2 separate regions of the Homo sapiens genome follow, and region 1 is linked to region 2. The links are contacts of gene promoters, found by promoter capture Hi-C in human tissues and cell types (Jung and others, 2019). All regions are on one chromosome and are shown on one strand. Each heading gives the region's core, a stretch centred on a gene start or on the middle of the fragment in contact. The rest is flanking DNA. Distances are from core to core; before and after follow the strand shown. Region 1 has its middle 35 kb from the start of CD53. Region 2 holds the start of KCNA10 (potassium voltage-gated channel subfamily A member 10).

What was found. Contacts are between HindIII fragments. The study calls those that stand out against the background at their distance.
Region 1: a fragment that was not itself captured here is called in contact with the fragment with the promoter of KCNA10 in region 2 in 1 of the 25 tissues and cell types used here (spleen).

What each region holds. Positions count from the first base shown.
Region 1 is chr1:110,836,396-110,839,509 of GRCh38, forward strand. No RefSeq gene overlaps it. Among named protein-coding and RNA genes, the nearest start is that of CD53, 35 kb to the right of the region's middle. The HindIII fragment of the contact is 9,467 bases long and covers 1-3,114 here.
Region 2 is chr1:110,517,780-110,520,936 of GRCh38, forward strand. It overlaps KCNA10 (potassium voltage-gated channel subfamily A member 10), which reads right to left and starts at 1,396. Exons shown (of 1, transcript NM_005549.2): 1 at 1-1,396. The coding sequence starts at 1,008. The HindIII fragment of the contact is 7,025 bases long and covers 1-3,157 here.

The DNA of each region.
Region 1 (3,114 bases), core at 403-2,902, 320 kb after region 2:
TAATTACAGTATCATAAAAATAGGGCTCACTCCCTGCTGTCAGAGAGCATAGCATCTAGAATGGATGGGAGACATAGATAATTATCATAAAAGGTGAAATGTGATAAGTGCTTGCAGAAGGTACTAGTAATGACAGAAATGTTCAGGATAGTAGACATTGGATTCTGCTTGGAAGAAGTAGCATTTGAATTGAGGCCTCAGTAATGAAGTACGTTGCTTACTTATTTTAGTGCTTACTTTGTAGCATGTTTATTGTAACAGAATTAGAAAAAATTCAAGTATGAAACAGAAAGTAAAAACTCCTTGTAATCCGGTCACTCAAAAGATTATAAAAATTAAAGTTTGGTTTGTTTCCACTCAAGAAAAAAAGAATGTTGTATAAATGGAATCATGAGAAGGTAACCCCTTTGAAATCAGCTTTCTTCCCCCCATTTAGCATAATTCTATAGAGATTTGTCCGGGTTGCTGCATGTAGCAATTGTTTATTCTTTTTTATTGCTGATTAATATTCCATGGTATGAATATGCCACAGTTTGCTTAAAACCAGTTACTGAAGGACATAAGGATTGTTTCCAGTTTTTGGCTATTACTATAAAGCTGCTATAAACATTTGTACACATTTTTTGTGAGCATAAGTTTTTATTTCTCTGGATTAAATGCCTAATAGTTCAATTGCTGGGTTGTATGGTAATTGCAGGTTAAGTTTTGAAAGAACCTGCCAAACTGTATTTCATGGCAGCTATGCTGTTTTACATTTCTACAAAGATATGAGGGATCCAATTTCTCTGCATCCTTGCCAGATTTTGATGTCTTTGTTTTTATTTTAGCCATTCTGATAGGTGTATAGTGATATTTTATTGCTGTTTTAATTTGTGGTTCCATAATGGCTAATGATGTTGAACATATTTTGATGTGCTCATTTGCCATCTGTATATCCTCTTTAGTGAAATGTCTTTTTATGTCTTTTGCCATTTTCTAACTAGATTATTTTCTGGTGAGTTTTGACCGTTCTTTATATATTCTGATTACTAGTTCTTTGTCATATATGCACTTTGCAAATTTTGTATGGAAATTTATTTAGCTTTTACTTTAGATTTTGGGATACATGTGTGGATTTATTCTATAGGTAAACTTGTGTCATGGGGGTTTGCTGTGAGATTATTTCATAACCAGGTACTAAGCCTAGTACCTAATTGTTATTTTTGTTGTTGTTCCTCTACCTCCTCCCACCCTTCACTTTCAAGTAGGCCCCAGTATCTGTTGTTCCCTTCTTTGCATTCAGAAAGCCAAATACCACATGTTCTCACGTATAAGTGGCAGGTAAATGATTTAAACTTTTAAATATTTTATTCATCATTGATTTTTACAGTAATTTAAACTGTTAAAATATTACATTAAACTCTTTTCAAAACTAATTATTTTTACTGAATAAAAATTATATATATTAGTTTTGTATAGCATGATGTTTTGATATATGTATATATTGTGAAATGCCTAATCAATCTAATTAATATATGATTACCTCACATACTTATTATATTTGTGGTGAAAACATTTAAAATCTACTATTTTAGTAATTTTCAAGTATACAATACATTGTTATTAACTGTATTCACCTTGATGTATAATAGATTTCCTGAATTTATTCCTCCTGTCCAACTAAAATTTTATATCCTTTGACCAACATCTCTCTATTAACCCCGTTTCCCAGACTGGTAACCACTATTCTACTCTCTGTTCCTATGAGTTTAACCTTTTTAGAATCCATGTGGTATTTTTCTTTCTGTGCCTTGCTTATTTCACTGAACATAATGTCCTCCAGCTTCTTCCATGTTGCTGCAAATGACAGGATTTTCTTTTTTAAAGGCTGAATAGTATTCCATTGCGTGTATATTCAACACAGTACTAGAAGCCCTAGAGAGAGTAATCAGGCAAGAGGAAGAATTAAAAGCCATCCAAATGGGAAAGGAAAAAGTTAAATTGTCTGTTTGCATATGACAGGACCTTATATTTAGAAAAATTTAGATTCCAGCAAAAAATAGAACTAATAAACAAATTCAATAAAGTAGCAGGGTACAAAATCAACATACAAAAATCAGTAGCATTTCTATACACTAACAACAAACTATCTGAACAAGAAATGAAGAAAACAATACCATTTATAATATATACAAAAAATCAAAATAGTCAAGAATAAATTTAATCAAGGAGGTGAAAGATATGTATACTAAAAACCTCCTGGGTAGCTGGAGCAGAGAATTGCTTGAGCCCAGGAGTTTGTTCAGCAACATATTAAAAGGATTACACACCACGACCAAATGGGGTCTATCCCAAGAATGCAAGTATGGTTTCATATAAAAAAATCAATCAATATAATACACTACAGTAATAGAATAAAGGACAATATCATATGATTGTCTCAACTGATGCTGAAAAAGAATTTGAGAAAATCCAGCACCTTATAATAATAAAAATATTCAACAAACTAGAAATAGGGGAGAACTTCCTCAACATGATAAAAGCCTTATATAAAAAAAACCCAGAGTTAACACTATATTTGATGATTAAAGTCTGAAAGGTTTGCCCTAAGATCAGGAACAAGACAAGGATGTCCATCTCTGTCACTTCCATTCAACATTGTTATGGAAATTCTAAGCAGGAAAATTAGATAAGAAAAAGAATAAAAGGCATTGTATCAAAACTGCAAAGGAGAAAGTAAATATATTTCCATTTTCAAATGATATAATCGCATATAAAGAAAATCCCAAAGAATCTACACACAAAAAAACTACTAGAGTTGATAAATGAATTAAGCAAAGTTGCAGATTACCAGGTAAACATACAAAAAATCGGTTTTATTTCCACATCCTAACAATGAATAATCTGAAAATGAAAGTTTAAAAAAATTTCATTCACAATACCATAAAAAAATTAAGAATAAATTTAACCAAGACAAGACTTGTATACTGAAAACTACAAAAACATTGCTGAAAGGAATTAAAGACCTAAATAAAGAAAAAGATATTCATGTTCATGGATTAGAGGACTTCATATTAAGAAGACAATACTCCCCAAAGAGATATACAGATACATAAAAATAATTATCAATATCTT
Region 2 (3,157 bases), core at 146-2,645:
GGACATGTTCTGTTGGGCACTCGGCTCTGTCTCCTGGACTAGCTCTGTGATGAGAGTTGCAAAGTAGGGGATAATGGAGATGATGTCAATGATGTTCATGATGTTCCTGAAGAAGTCAGTCTTGCTGGGGCAGACCACGAACCGGAGCACCAGCTCGAAGGTGAACCACACGATGCAGGTAGACTCCACCATGAAGAAAGGGTCGGTGAACATGGTCTGGGAGAGGACTGTCTTGCTCATGTTGAGATTGGGGTCTCTGACCACCTTTAGCTCCCTATCCTCCCGGAACTCTGGCAGTGTCTCCAGGCAGAAGATGGTGATGGAGATGACCACAACCAACACCGAGACCACGGCCACAGCACGGGCAGCGCTGGAACTTTCAGGGTACTCAAAGAGGAGCCAGAACTGACGGTGGATGTCATTGGTGGGTAGCAGTGTTTCAGGGTCTTTGATGAAGCCTTCATCCTCCCGGAACTGGTCCATGGCCTCACTACCCAGCTCATAGAAGGAGATTTCATCAGCAAAGATATCAATGGGAACATTGGCTGGGCGCCGAATTTTCCCACCAGATTGGTAATAATATAGGATTCCATCAAAACTGGGCCGGTTCCGATCAAAGAAATACTCATTTCTCATGGAGTCAAAGAACTGCATCCTTTTTTCCCGGTCTCCCAGGAGAGTCTCTGGGAACTGACTAAGGGTTCTGAGCTGGGTCTCAAATCTCAGCCCAGCAATGTTGATGATCACCCGCTGGTTTCCTTCATTTAGGACCACTGGCTCAGGCCCTGGGGGGTCAGCATAGTCTCCCGGAAGCTTGGAGAAGGCCGTCTCATGGTTGGTGCTTTCGCTGATGAGGATCTTCCCGTTGGAGAAGGAGCTGCCCCCAGGCCGGCCTTTTGGGCTGGTTGAGTCGAAGTCTGTGGCATAGCCTGGCTCTTCTTGGATTTCATCTGAATTATCAAAATTGACCAGCGCAACCTCCATTTCTTTCCAGCCACACACATCCATTCTAGGGGAGCCAGGGAAGAAGCATGAAGATCCTCAGCCTTCACTGCCTGCTGTGAGCTATGGAGAAGAAGAAGTTCATTATACAAGATCCAGGGCAGAATACAACTGGCCCTTGTTTATTGAGGTAAGGTACACCAATGGGCTAATCAATGACTTATTTGTAGCTTGGGAAGGAACGTCATGGTTATTTTGGCAGCATGCTTCCCTTAAAATCATTTTGTACCCCTGAGTTTGCATAAACTAATAACTAGGAGAAATTGCAAAAAAAGGATCCTGGCAAAGAAGGGGAGATTCTCCCCAGCAAAGGATGGTCTCCATATGTGATGGCAGAGGGGCCATACTAAAAGAGGAAGTTAACATTCCTTAATAATAAAAAGCATGATCTTGTATTTGCATGAAGCCTTCTGTCTCACCAAACACGTCTCCATGCCCAATCTCATTCGTAATGCCTCTCTTTCACACCAACAGCCAGTCCCTCACACATCCTTTTGGTCATGTCTTCAAAATATATCTAGAATTCAACCATTTTGCATCACTTCCACCCCTGCTTCTGGACCAAGTGGTGAAGGGTGGAACCAGATCTATGAACCCAATGGGGATTCTTTAGGGAAGGAAAAACAAGACGCTGGGTTGGCCAATCGACAATGTCCTCTAAATGACCCCTCACCTGGAAATAACTCCTAGAGTTGTTTTGAAGGTACCTCAAATGAGATAACACGTATGGAATGCTTGGTGGAAAGAAAGATCACTATATTATAGCTATTGTTTTTTGTCAACTTTCCCACATAACAAGCACTTTAGAAACTACCAGCAATTGGAATTTTTTTTGGCCTGAGTCCAAGGTGTCCATAGGAAGTAATTTCATTTTGAGAAATCATTTTAGGTGGGAAGGAAGTAAATAATTGTGTGTGTCTGTGTGTGTGTGTGTATATGTGTGTGTGTGTGTGTGTGTGTGCGCGCGCACGCTGGAGGTGGGGTTAGGAAATCATGCCCAGTGGGCTTGGACATCTATACACATAGACTAATATTTCTTTCCTCAGGTTCATTCTAGCTTCAGTTTCAATTTAAGAACACTGAACCCAGGCAGGCTGGGGGTGGGAGTGGGAGAGAAGTAAGGGACTTAACCTCAGGCAAAATCTGTAGTGGTCACAGCCTTGGAGAGGTTTCCTTTACAGGCGACAAGGCTATCCTGCAGTGTAGTGTTGTAGTCTTTTCAAAGTGATTCCACATTCACTTATCTCACTAGATGACAATAATCACGTGAGGTTAGATGTTATCTCTGTTTTGCAGATGCGGAAACCAAGTCACAGGGACAAAGTGACTTCCTAAGGTCACATAACTAGTGCTACAGAGTCCTGACCTAAACCTGGCCATGGCCTTCTGGCCCAGGGCCTTTCCCACTAGACCATGGAGTCCCTATATAGGAGCTGAGCCTTGTGGGGAGCTGTAGGCTAGGGCCACAGAATTGTCAGGGGTCCAGAGCTCTTTCCATCCCATGACCCCTTTTCTCAGTTCAGGTGCCATGTGTTGAATGATGAGCTCAAGTCTGGTTGGTCAGCACTGGTAGAGTACCCATTCTACCTCTCAGGAGTATGTGGCCATTGCAAACGGCCTAATTTCACGGAGCTGCTGCTTCCTCAGTTGTGGAATGAGGAAGGATGTACCCACTGCCAAGCATGCCAGGTGCCAGCCTGCTCTGCAAGGCTCGGTGAGCAGTAGGATGGCTGGGAGGCAGGATGGAATCTGAGAATAGAATCAGTCCACCCGAGTTCAAATCCTGGCTCTGTACATGGTAAAGCCCTGGAGAAATGTAGCTTCACAGTAATTCGCATGATGATTTGGGGGCCTTGTCCTGAACTGCTTGGCAGCTGGATGGCTGTGGGTGGGGGACTCCAGCTCTGTGTTGATCTCATGTCTTCGGAGCACCATTTTCTCCTTTGGGGTCTTGGACCGCAGATGGTGCTCCCTGATGATTATCTTCCAGGTGTGAATCAGTCCCGCTTTCTGAGAGGAATGAGTACCATCAGTGAGCTTTGGGCAAGGTTTGGGAACCACTTCCATGGTTCTAGCCAAGGCTAGAGTGACCCTTATCAGGAACTTCTCTGGAGGCCAGCAGCAGAAAGCATTTGGGGATTAGGGAGAGCTTCTT